Linked DNA regions of Homo sapiens: all the other regions are linked to region 3. Evidence: promoter capture Hi-C in 16 types of primary human blood cells and fetal thymus (Javierre and others, 2016). All regions are on one chromosome and are shown on one strand. Each heading gives the region's core, a stretch centred on a gene start or on the middle of the fragment in contact. The rest is flanking DNA. Distances are from core to core; before and after follow the strand shown. Region 1 overlaps ERI1 (exoribonuclease 1). Region 2 overlaps LOC124901866. Region 3 holds the start of CLDN23 (claudin 23).

Region 1 (4,253 bases), core at 1,038-3,537, 310 kb before region 3:
ATAAGCCATGGCCTCAACCAGCCAGATGGCTCACGTCTATAATCTCAGCACTTTGGGAGGGGGGTGAATCACTTGAGCTGGAGCTCGAGACCAGCCTGGGCAACATGGAGAAACCCTATCTTCACTAAAAATACAAAAATTAGCCAGGCATGGTGGTGCATGCCTGTAATCCGAGCTACTCAGGAGGCTGAGGCACGAGAATCGCTTGAATCCAGGAGTCGGAGGTTGCAGTGAGCCGAGATCACACCACTGCACTCCAGCCTGGCGACAGAGCAAGACTCTGTCTCAAAAAAATAAAAAATAAAAGGCATGTTCTCAATACACTTTTATGTCCTATAACTTTGGTTGCACAACAGGTGAAGAAAAGGCAAGATCATGTTGCAGAAACCATACAAACTGGAATTAGAAAAGTTTCTGTTATTTTTTTGCCTGAAATACCCTCCCCCTCCCTTTTCTGTTTGGCACAATTCAAATGTCATCTTTCTGAATTCCTGAGAAATATTCTCCTCTGTATTCTCATGCTGTACCTGGCCAGACCTCCAATATAGCATTGGCCACTCTGTATTGTGATGATTTCTTTGTATGTTTTCCCAAAAGACTGAGATTGCCAAAGTGGGGAACATATCTGTATTTACCTTTATAACTTCAATGCCTAGTGCAGTACTTAGAATTCAATACAGGCTTGTTGAATAAACGTATAAACATACATCTAGATCGCTAGCTCCCACGCAAGCCAGGAGTAAGCAACTGATCTTCACACCTGGGAAGGACAAAAATTTTGCTCGGAAAATCTTCTGTAGGCTACAAGTTGTACCTTCATAACAGAAAGAATCGGGGAAATAGGAGTCAAAAATTTCTTCATACATTATGATGTAGACAATCTAGAAATTAATAAATTTGTGCTCTTTTGAAGAGTGGTGAAACTCTAAAGAGGAAGAATACTACTATTAAGAGAATTATGATTCAGAGATGTCTTGAAAAAGGAAGAGTTTTTACCTATTTCATACAGGCAATTTTTTTTCTTGATGCCTGGCAGTTCTACCGTTTATCAAAAATCGATGTATTTTTCTGGACTCCAAAAGCCATTTCTGCCCCATGGCCCAATGAACGTAAAGTGATTTGTTTCGCAAAAAATTACTAAAAACTTAGGTATGTGTATATCTCATTAAAATACACATACAGTTGACTAAGTTGCATTGTTTTCTCACTCAATATACAGTGAAACATAATGCAAACGATCATTGTAGATTATTTTTTAGAAATTAAAACAAAAAATATTCCTGTTAAGTGAATGTTTTTAATTTATTGTACCTGATTTCAAACAAACTCTTTTTATAAAAGATACAAATGGCAAAAAGAAAATAAAAAATACTCTATCTCACTAATATAACTATCCATCATTTAAATGAGCAACTAAAAAAATTTAAAACACTCTTGTCATAATAAGACAGAGACTCCTATACATTGCCGGTAGGTCATTAAAATATTTGACTTTGATTCAGCAGTCCTATCATCTAGAAGACAGACAAAAATAATCAGAGTTGCACATAAAAAATGTTAATTAGTTTTTGTGAACTGTTAATAGGATCATGTCATTACGGTAGGATTACAGATGATTTTTAATATTTCAATGTTTTCAAGATTTTCTAAAATGAGCATGTACTACTTTTATAATTTTATAAGTTATTTTTAATTACCTAGTTTCAAGCTTGAATTCTGAAAGCTTAGCTCTGAGTTCTTCCTTACTCATTCTATTAATACAGCCATTCGTAATGGCAATCTCTTTGTAAACCGGGTCACTGAAGTCACTCGCACTGGAGGTAATGAACTTGGATCCTTTTGTCTCCTGGCCATCAAATTTACACTGTTGAGTTTCCTACCAAAAAAAAAAAAAAAAAAAAAAAAAAAAAGGATGTAGTTTATAATTAGTACAAACATCACAGATTTAAAGATTCAAACTTTCAAACTTCTGAAGCCTCTTCATGCTACATGTTCAATGAAAAGTGTTCACTGCAGCTCCTAAACGGAGGAAAGGATAAGAAGGAAGATGCGTCTCCAATACAATTTACCCCACTCTATTATGAGTCATGAGGTTCCTCAAAGGAAACAAAGCTAAGTAAAAAGAAGACTGGTGGTGGGAGTCAACACCACCTCAATAGAGAACCCCAGCTGACTATTTACTAGAAATAGCAGCATGACTTTGGATAGCTACGTATTAGCCTCTGATCCTCAATTTCCTTATCTATAAAATGGTAATTTGGTAATGGTAAATAGTGTTTGGGCAGAATTATTACAAAGATTAAATGAGATTATGTGTATCAGACCCCTACACCCACAGTAGCTATTAATAAATGGTAACTATTAATATCACAGGCTATACAACAAGCCCTTCACAAACAATATGCTAATATTTACAAATGAACCCATTTTTAAATGAACTTTTACATTATACATGTGTAATAACTTCTGATAATTTTTTAACCTGACTTCATTTCACAAAGTTAACAAAAATTGCCCAACATAAAAACAAAATGGACCGCAAATCTAATTTACAGCTTCCTAGTACTCAAAGAAGGAAATGTATTTAATTTCAAAACTTACATTTTCCAAAAGTTGTACTTAGGTCCACTAACCAGAAGAACTATAGAATTATGAATTTTTTCATAAATAAAAATCTGTTAAGAAAAAACATGACTCAATTCTATTTTCTCCACAGGCAGTCTCAAATTACTAATATGTTAAGTTCCAAAGATTCATTTGTAAGTTATTTTCCACATGCAATATCACAAATATTAGCTATGTTCCATAATTTTGAAAAATATTTAGTACTAATTATCCCTATTAAAGCTTGTTACCTTAGTTATAATGTACCACATTGTCCTCACGTAAACTGTAATTATAGATCAAGGAAGGATAATCACAGAGAGGCCACAGTCCCTAACTCAGAACTGATCCTGATGGTTCAGGAACCATTTCTTACTCTAAGCTCTCAATTTAATGCAACACACATTTACTGGAAATGTAATGCTAGGTAAGGTGCCAGAGTACTCAAGAGTGACTCACCCATTTCCTTTGAGGAAGAGGTCAGCAGTTCCAATGTGTGAACTGTCCATAAATTAAAGAACAGCCACACTGAGGTTCCTTGTTAACAATGTTAAGGAAAAAAAAAGTATTGCTAGTTGACCAATGATTCACTTTCAACAATATATTAGATTTACAATAGATATTGCTCTGCTTGACCAGAATTTTACAAAAAATTATCTTTTGACTTTAAATTTACATTGAATTTGAAACTTCATCTTTAGTCATCATTTAGTAAATTTCAGGTTAAAATTTAGGTCAACATTAAGTAACAGTTTGTCTACCAAAACAGATGTCTCAGTTAATTTAAGCAGATTTTCTCTTTGGATAAATCCTCTTTCTGATTCACTGGTTAATTCTCATCCTAAACTGTAGCTAGAAAAATTATTCACAAGTAACACTTAGGCCTCTTCTATAGATGCTATAAATTATGACTTCCATAAAGAAAAATTTGCTTCCTTTCCTAGGTCCAGCTCTAGTTCTCTTCCTTCAGTGAAGTTCTAGAGACAGCCGAGGTCCAATCCTCAGAAAGCAGTGTCTCCTCCCAAATTTCAAATCTACACTAATGGTTCACAAAGAAGGATGCTCAAATCAATCTGCCAAGGAGCAGAAAGAAAATACTAAAAACCCTACTTGTATTGTTAATCTGCAGAAAGACAAAATTAGTTTACGAAATACATACTTACATTTGCATCAGCATCCGTACCAGTAACTACATCCACCTATCACATGTCACATATAATACGGACCATATAATGAGAAAAGTGATAGATTCCACAATATGGAGAGAAACATTCACCATCACAGAACTGTAACATTTTGCAATATTCACGTATTCAATTAAGTGGATGTATGGTTTATATTATCTCAAATAAGAGAAGCTTTTACATTATGGGATGTGGCCATGAAAATCTTCTATACCAAACAGAGGTTTACTATCTTGTGGCAAACTACTTTAAAACTGTCGTTGAGGCCGGGCGCGTTGGCTCACGCCTGTAATCCCAGCACTTTGGGAGGCCGAGGCGGGCGGATAACGAGGTCAGGAGATAGAGACCACGGTGAAACCCCGTCTCTACTAAAAATACAAAAAATTAGCCGGGCGGGCGCCTGTAGTCCCAGCTACTCAGGAGGCTGAGGCAGGAGAATGGCGTGAACCCGTGAGGCGGAGCTTG
Region 2 (4,142 bases), core at 1-2,500, 280 kb before region 3:
CCGAGGAACTCCATAATAATGTAGATTCCTGGGGTCCTTATTTCAGGATTTGACTTTATAGATCTGGGTAGCCTCAGAATCTTCATTTGTACCTCACATTGCAGGGATTCTGAGTAGGTATTAAGAATAACCATATTTTAATGGAAATAGGACAAGATTAAACTGCTAAGTTTCAGTCTTAGTGACAAAACCACTGATATTAAGAAAAGAAAGGGAAATTTCAAGAATATTTAAATTCTGTAATCAGAAGAAGCACTGTGCATCTAAAACATGATGATATTTTCAACTTACGATGGATGTGTGAGGTCATAACCCCACAGTAAGTTGAGGAGTATCTGTACCTTATCAAATGCCAGCACACAGGCTGGAGCATTCATTACCCATTCCTGTCTGAATCAACTATCATTATGGTACTCCTTAAACAATGACTTTAACTTTTTTTTTTTGACACAGAGTCTCACTTTGTTGTCCAGGCTGGAGTGCAATGGCACAATCTCGGCTCACTGCAACCTCCACCTCCCGGGTCCAAGTGATTCTCCTGTCTCAGCCTCCAGAGTAGCAGGATTACAGGCACCTGCCACCAAGCCCAGTTAATTTTTGTATTTTTAGTAGAGATGGGGTTTCACCATGTTGGCCAGGCTGGTCTCAAACTCCTGAGCTCAGGTGATCCACCTGCCTCAGCCTCCCAAAATGCTGGTATTAGAAGCGTGAGCCACCACGCCCAGCCTTAAATGATGATTTTTTCTATTTCCATAATTCCTTCTGTAGTTGACATTCTACTACAAAGAGATGCTTTCCTGTTTAATTTACATATATATATATATATATGTCAGTATGGACTCATGGCTTCCTATTTTATTTGAGGAAATGTAATCCATTTCTATCATTTTTTTAGGGGAGGGGGATGACACAGATTAACCTAGATTTGGCCAAGGGAGTTTCTTCAAGCTGCTTCCTATGTCCTTTTGACATGTTCCCATTATTTTTTTTTTTAGCATTTTCTTACATTCTTGTGCAACAAACTGTTTCAAGCTCATTCTGTCTTTCCCTTGTCCTGGCCCAGGAATTTGCCAGTTCTCTAAGGAGTCCTGGGTCTTTTATTGAAAAATTTTTTTTTTTTTTGAGGTGGAGTCTCACTCTGTCACCCGGGTTGGAGTGCAGTGGCACAATCTTGGCTCACTGCAACCTCAGCCTCCTGGATTCAAGCGATTCTCCTGCCTGTGCCTCCCCAGTAGCTGGGATTACAGGTGTGTGCCACCACTCCTGGCTAATTTTTTAAAAAATTTTTAATAGAGTCAGGGTTTTGCCATGTTGGGTTGGCCAGTCTGGTCTTGAACTCCCGACTTCAAATGATCCACCCGCCTCGGCCTCCCAAAGTGCTGGGATTTCAGGCGTGAGCCACTGCGCCTGGCCTAGTGAAGAATATACTCATTGCTACAGTAGGGTCATTGCTTCTGAGACCTCTCATTAACGGAGATGGAAGACACACACATACACATACTCTATATAAATATTTCCATCTTTATGTATCTTTGCCTATATAAATATGAGTTCACACTGATATCATCAGTTTCAACCCCACACCTCAAGGTTTTTCTCAGCCTTTTATATTTGTAATCTCTTCCTCCACAGTAAAATATCTGCCTTTAATTTTTCCCAATGTAGTTATTTACTTGCATATTTCAATATTCCTATCATTTTATCTCAGTCTCCACGGTCTCTGCTGTCTCCTTGCACAGCCATCTTATTTCCGTTTAAATCTCTGCAGGATCTATGACTTGTTATGTTTATTGAGAGGAAATAACCTTCTCAAAATAATCCAGAGGATGCTCACCTGCTAAAAATTTAGCTCTCCACTGGGAGTGGTAGATGTAATGCCTGTAATCCCAGCCTTTGGGAGGCTCATGCCTGTAATCCCAGCACTTTGGGAGGCCAAGGCAGGTGGATCACTTGAGGCCACGAGTTCGAGACCAGCCTGGCCAATATGATGAAACCCCACCTCTACTAAAAAATTACAAAATTTATCCAGGTGTGGTGGCATACTACAGTAATCCCAGCTACTTGGGAGGCTGAGACATGAGAATCACTTTAGCCCGTGATAAGGAGGTTGCAGTGAGCCAAGATCATGCCCCTGCACTCCAGCCTGGGGGACAGAGTGAGACTGTCTCAAAAAAAAAAAAAAAATAAATAAATAAAAACTTAGCTCTCATTTAACCTCCTAGAGATGTGACTTTCAGCTACAAAATGTGTGATCACACTATTATAAAACATTGAATTAATTTTTCATTCTACAAAATATGTTCATTGAAAAAAATTGGAATTTGTTTACTGACATAAATGAACTCACCAGACTTGTGTTCAGCAATTGTTCATTACATGATTATGTAGAATATTTTATTAGTCAGAAAACACCGGGCTCTCTGGTGTTTTGCTTTCTCTTTCAGCCTGCTCAGTGTAAAATGTATTTTTAGCAGATCCAAACACAAACACAATAGGAAAACTGGTTATATGATACACTTATTAAGTGCTTTCATGATAAAGAAATAATATTATTGCAATTTTAACACCCGTTTGCTGATCAGATCCTTAAAACAGTTCTGTGAGGGTGTGAACGGTGAGGGACGCCTGTAATCCTAGCACTTTGGGGGCCAAGGTGCAAGGATTGCTTGAGGCCAGGAGTTCAAGACCAGTAAGGGCAGCATAGCAAGACCCCATCTCTACAAAAAATTAAACAATTAGTCAAGTGTGGTGGCAGCACCTGTAGTCCCAGCTAACCAGGAGGCTGAGGTGGGAGGATCCCTTTAGCCCAGGAAGTTGAAGCTGCAGTGAGCTATGATCGCACCACTGCACTCCAGCATGTGTGACAAAGCAAGTCCCTGTCTCTAAAAACAGCATACAAAACAAAAACAGTTCTGTGAGTTGTCACGGCAGTTAGGTACTGTGGATCCCACTTTATGGAATAAGAAAGTGAGGCTGCAAGGAATCCGTGACTATCAGTCCAGGCTTTTAAGAGCTGGGAATTGACTGGTCCAATTAGAACTACATTCCCTATTCCAATTCCATCAAACTTTTCAACTTTCAATAGAAAAGACAGTGCAAAGAAAGAGGCTGAATTTATACAACAACAACAAAAATTATGTCTCTCCCAGTCCATGAAAATATTTCAGGTTTAAAAAGCAATAAGCTGGCCAGGTGCCATGGCTCACACCTGTAATCCCAACACTTTGGGAAACCGAGACAGCTGGATCATTTGAGGTTAGGAGTTCCAGACTAGTCTGGCCAATATGGCAAAACCACATCTCTACTAAAAATACAAAAGTTAGCCAGGCATGGTGGTGCGTGCCTGTAGTCTCAGCTACTCAGGAGGCTGAGGCAGAAGGATTGATTGAGCCTGGGAGGTGGAGGTTGCAGTTAGCGGAGATCGTGCCACTGCATTCCAGCCTGGGTGACAGAGTGAAACTGTCTTGAAAAATAAAGTAAAATAAAATAAGCCTTTTTCTGTAAAAAGTCAGCCCTGGAGGAATGGTTCCAAGCGTGTGGACAGCACCACTCAGTTTCCCTACTATACCTGTGGAAGGAAATGATAGTTGCTGTATTTCTAAATAGGTTGACTATTAACATTGCTGCATTCTCCTTCCCAAGAAACACCATGGCCTGATACACTCACTGCGGCCCCATGTGGGGCAAAATTGCTGCCATCCATATCTTTTTTTTTTTTTTTTTTGAGACAGTATCTCACTCTGTCACCCAGGCTGGAGTGCAGTGGTGCAATCACAGCTCACCGCAGCCTCAATTTCCTGGGCTCAAGCGATCCTCCTACCTCAGGCTCTGGAGTAGCTGGGCATGAGCCACCACATCTGGCTGGTTTTTGCTTTGTTCTATTTTTGTTTGTTTTGTAGAGACGGGGGTCTCTCTATGTTGCTCAGGCTGGTCTCGAACTCCTGGCCTTAAACAATCCACCTGCCTCGACCTCACTAAGTGCTGGGATTACAAGCGTGAGCTATTGTGCCCAGCCTTGCCACCCATATCTTTGCTTCCTGTGGCTGAGTTTCAAAGCATCATGAACCTGAAATAAGAGGTCACAAGTTCACTGCTCGGCTTAAGCTGAATGGCAGCTAATCCATTCCAAATAGATGAAAATC
Region 3 (3,748 bases), core at 1,239-3,738:
CACATAGCTGCCTTCCTGTGATTCTAAACACCACTGCTACAAAGGAAAAGATTTCCAGTCTCACCTCAAGTGGAAACTGGTGCTTCTCGTTTTCTCAGCAATAGACTTGGCTTTGCACAGAAATGGCATGAACCTAAAACCAAAGCAATCAGGGACTTAAGTGGGGCCCGTTGGCTTTTTTTAGTAACCTTATGCTAAGAGGTGCAAAGATTTGAGTGCTAGATTTCAGACACAAGTGCCGAGGCAGCCAGGAAATTGTTAGTAATGAATGTTTAAACTCCCAAACGTTGTACTGAAGACAAAAGAGCTTTTGTGGCTATACTGAAACTATTGTTTTAAAATTTTATTTATAAATAAAAGATATATACATATGTGCTTTAATATGATTAACAGGTTCCATTTTGTACAAAATGTTAAACCTAGAGTCCTCTGCGTCCTGGATGAGGCGTCCAAAGGGTGGAATAGTACAGCATTAGGACCTTTGTTCTCCTCTTGGCTTCTGGAAGAGAAACTCTTGCATGCCCTCGACTTTCACCGCAAAAATAAGTGAGAAAAAAGATAAATCCCATTTATGCAATGATATGTAGCTATGAGTTAATCACGGTATTTCATTCCATGAAATCCATTAAGCTGCTGGCATTTGCATGGCTCTAAGTTTATTTTAAGAGGCTCATTCAAACATGGCCAGGAATATATTGGCCTCTTGAGAGTTTGCATGGCAAGGAGTTATACAGCAGGAAAAAGAAAAAAAACCCAATAATTATATTGATGCAAGATTCATCAGTATTTTAGAATATTGTCGTTTCAACATGTTAAATTGTTTCTGAGCACTGCTGATTTCAGCACTGTCCCTGGTCCACGTGACGCAAATGCCACCCTTTCCATATATTCTTCAGCAAAAATATATGAAAAGCCCGTCACTCCCTAAGAGGACCCTGATCCCTCTGGAGAGGAAAACTAAACTCTTTAAGAAGAAAACCAAACCCAACCTGAACTAATCGTCCAAGGAGTCCTGTTTGGTCCCACGAAAGGCAGATTTCCATCCACACCAGTGAGGGGCAAGTGTCCGGGTTCCAACTCGAAGCCAGGCGGGCCTGTGCGGGGGTGAGTCCTTTGCCACCCGGCGCCCCCCAGGCTCTACAAGCGTCTAGAGGTCGGAGTCGCAGGGCAGCGAGCTGTCGCAGGGGTGGGTGCTGCACGAGGGAGCGTCCTGGGACTCCCACCCCTCCCCGTCGAGGACGTCCACCGAGTTGGTGTAGGCCTTGGGCCGCGGCCGCGGCATGGGGAAGCCGACCTTGGGCTTGGGCTTGGGCTTGCGGTGCTGGGCAGGCGGCGGTCGGTGCTGGCCGTCGCTGTAGTACTTGATGGCGGGCGCCAGGTCGGGCTCGGGCCACTCCACTTGGATGGTGCTGACGCTGCTGCGGCGAGGCCCGGCGGAGGGTCCCTTGCGGCGGCGGCGACAACGCTCGTCGCACCAGGGCGCGAAGCTGAGCGCCAGCGAGAAGCCGCCCAGCAGCAGGAGGCAGCTGCCCAGGTAGCCCAGGACCAGGCTGTAGCTGACCTGCACCGTGACCGGGCTGGCCGGGGCGGGCAGCACGTCGCGGTCCCCCAAGAAGTGGTTGTACCAGGACACCGGGATGAGGCCGAGGAGGCCAGCGACGAAGAGCACGACGCCCGAGAGCCCTGCCAGCACGAAGTTGGGCTCGTCCTGCCAGCAGCGCACGCCCAGCGACGCCAGCAGAAGCCCCAGGACCGTGGCGGCCAGCGAGGTGACCATGAGTGCCCGCGCCACCAGCACGGGCTGGGCCTCGAAGTAGCCCCACTGGTCCGTCTGGCCGCACTCGCGCTCGCGGCTGCTCTGCTCGCGACACATGTCCCACAGGCCCTGGTACAACTCCACGTCCACTGGCTGGTTCAGGAAGCCCTTCACCAGCCGCCAGCCGGGCGCCAGGGTGCCGGTCAGGTTGAGCAGGAGCCCGCAGGGCGCCAACACCATGCCCAGCGTCATCACCACCGGCGTCCGCATCCCGGCCCGCCGCGCCGACGGCGCCCCTGCAGCCTGCCTTCCTTCTCCGCTGTCGCCTTCTCCGCCGTCGTCTTCTCCCTGCCGTGCCCCAGGCTCCGGGGACCCGAAGTCAGCGCGGACGCCCCGGGCTCCGGGTCGGGCTCCTGAGCCCTGATCGCTCCAGGGACGCTCTTTGTCTCCTGCACGGGGACCGTCCCCACTTAGGCTAGTTCCCTCCTGGCGTCCCGGCCGCTCCGCCCTCCTACTGGCCCTAATCGAAACCAGCCCGCGGGCGGGTCTGACCGAAACCGCGGGTCCGGGCGCGGGCGCCCAGGGGCGGCTGCCGCGGCCAAACCTGGCCCGGGAGGGAGGGACCCGAGGTGAGCGCAGGAAGCGGCGGGGCCACCTCGCCCGCGGCAGGTGAGATGGGGATCCGAGCGGCGGGGACACCCCACCTTGCAGCCGGGCGGCTGGGCCACGCCTGGCCTGGACTGCTCACGGCCGGAGCAAAGGTCGCCCCGCCCCTGGGTCCTCGCGCCGCCCCGCCGGGCCAGGCGGGCGGTGGGCGGGGAGGGAAAGAGGCGGCGCTGGCGGGACGCGGTGGCTGCGCAGCTTCCCTGCTGCTCAGCGGATCTCGGTTCCTAGAATTTGTTTCCGGTCCCTGCCCGTCGACCCTGCGCTTATAGCTTAGCCCTTTACTCCCAGAGGGTTCCAGATCGCCCCCTGGTTTGCTCTGCAACTTGCAGCCACTCGCAGAGAAGTGGGCGGTGCCGAGCGCTCCCGGGGATTGGAGGTGCGCTGGGTGAGTGTGCAGAAGCCCACCCAGTCCAGGAGCGTGTCCCAGAACGTTGCACCGGATTATTTCCTTAATAAAGGCTCCACACTCTGGATTAAATTCGTCTCTAAAGAATCTGTGCCAGTGTACTTCTGGGCAGAAGGGTTACACAAGGATTTTACTTTCCTTTTTCAGCCTTGTGAGACTTTCAAGGGGACTAGAAAGAGGGACCAGTGTTCCCGGATGTCCTGCTTAGCGTTTTTTGCAGGTTTATTTAATTTTACAGTGTACTGTGGCCTTTCTCGTCTGTAGGTTATTTTACAACTCTATAAATTATAGAAAGCCTGTAGTATTGCAAATGACTTTTGCCAACATCAAGGCTAATGAGTTCGTCCCAGTGGAATGATTATTGTCCAATGGATACTGACCAGTATGGCATTGATTTGTAAATTCATTTTAGCATTCCTGTTTGTCTGTATATGTGTGTCCTTTTGTTCTTTGCTTTTTTTTTTTCCTTTTTCTTTTATTTATTTATTTATTTATTTATTTATTTATTTATTTTAAACAGGGTTGGGGAGTTTCGCTGTGTTGCCCAGGCTGGTTGCAAACTCCTGGGCTCAGGTGAGTCTCCCGCCTCAGCCTCTGGAGTAGCTAGGACTGCAGGCAAGTGGCCAGCTTCTTTGGTTTTAACATCATACTGGTTTCCTTATTCAATAATGAGTTAAATAACCTCTTTCACACATATTCATTTTATATTTGTGTGAAAGTCACGATGTTTACATTTTTTCTAAAAATTATCCTTTAATAACACTTTTTTGTATTTTCTAGATTTTTACAATGAAAACGTATTGCCTTTATAATTGTTTAAAATTAAAACTATTTTTAAAATTCAAGTTAATTTAGCATTGGTTTGAAATAATTTTGAATATTCCAGAGTGGACAACACTAGGAATGACAGTGACTGCTTT

What was found. Contacts are between HindIII fragments. The CHiCAGO score rates a contact against its expected background, and 5 or more counts as called.
Region 1: a contact is called between a fragment that was not itself captured here and the fragment with the promoter of CLDN23 in region 3, in 8 of 17 cell types (naive B cells, total B cells, M1 macrophages and 5 more). The highest score is 7.9, in naive B cells.
Region 2: a fragment that was not itself captured here is called in contact with the fragment with the promoter of CLDN23 in region 3 in 5 of 17 cell types (total B cells, naive B cells, M1 macrophages and 2 more); the score reaches 8.4 in total B cells.

What each region holds. Positions count from the first base shown.
Region 1 is chr8:9,005,593-9,009,845 of GRCh38, reverse strand. ERI1 (exoribonuclease 1) reads right to left here. Exons shown (of 7, transcript NM_153332.4): 2 at 1,698-1,876. Among named protein-coding and RNA genes, the nearest start is that of ERI1, 4.8 kb to the right of the region's middle. The HindIII fragment of the contact is 1,124 bases long and covers 1,726-2,849 here.
Region 2 is chr8:8,981,886-8,986,027 of GRCh38, reverse strand. The region is part of intron 3 of LOC124901866; the gene reads right to left. Among named protein-coding and RNA genes, the nearest start is that of ERI1, 19 kb to the left of the region's middle. The HindIII fragment of the contact is 9,598 bases long and covers 1-4,142 here.
Region 3 is chr8:8,700,677-8,704,424 of GRCh38, reverse strand. CLDN23 (claudin 23) reads right to left here and starts at 2,488. Exons shown (of 1, transcript NM_194284.3): 1 at 329-2,488. The coding sequence starts at 2,026. The coding sequence ends at 1,148. RefSeq lists an enhancer at 1,695-2,662 and a silencer at 2,136-2,755. The HindIII fragment of the contact is 12,864 bases long and covers 1-3,748 here.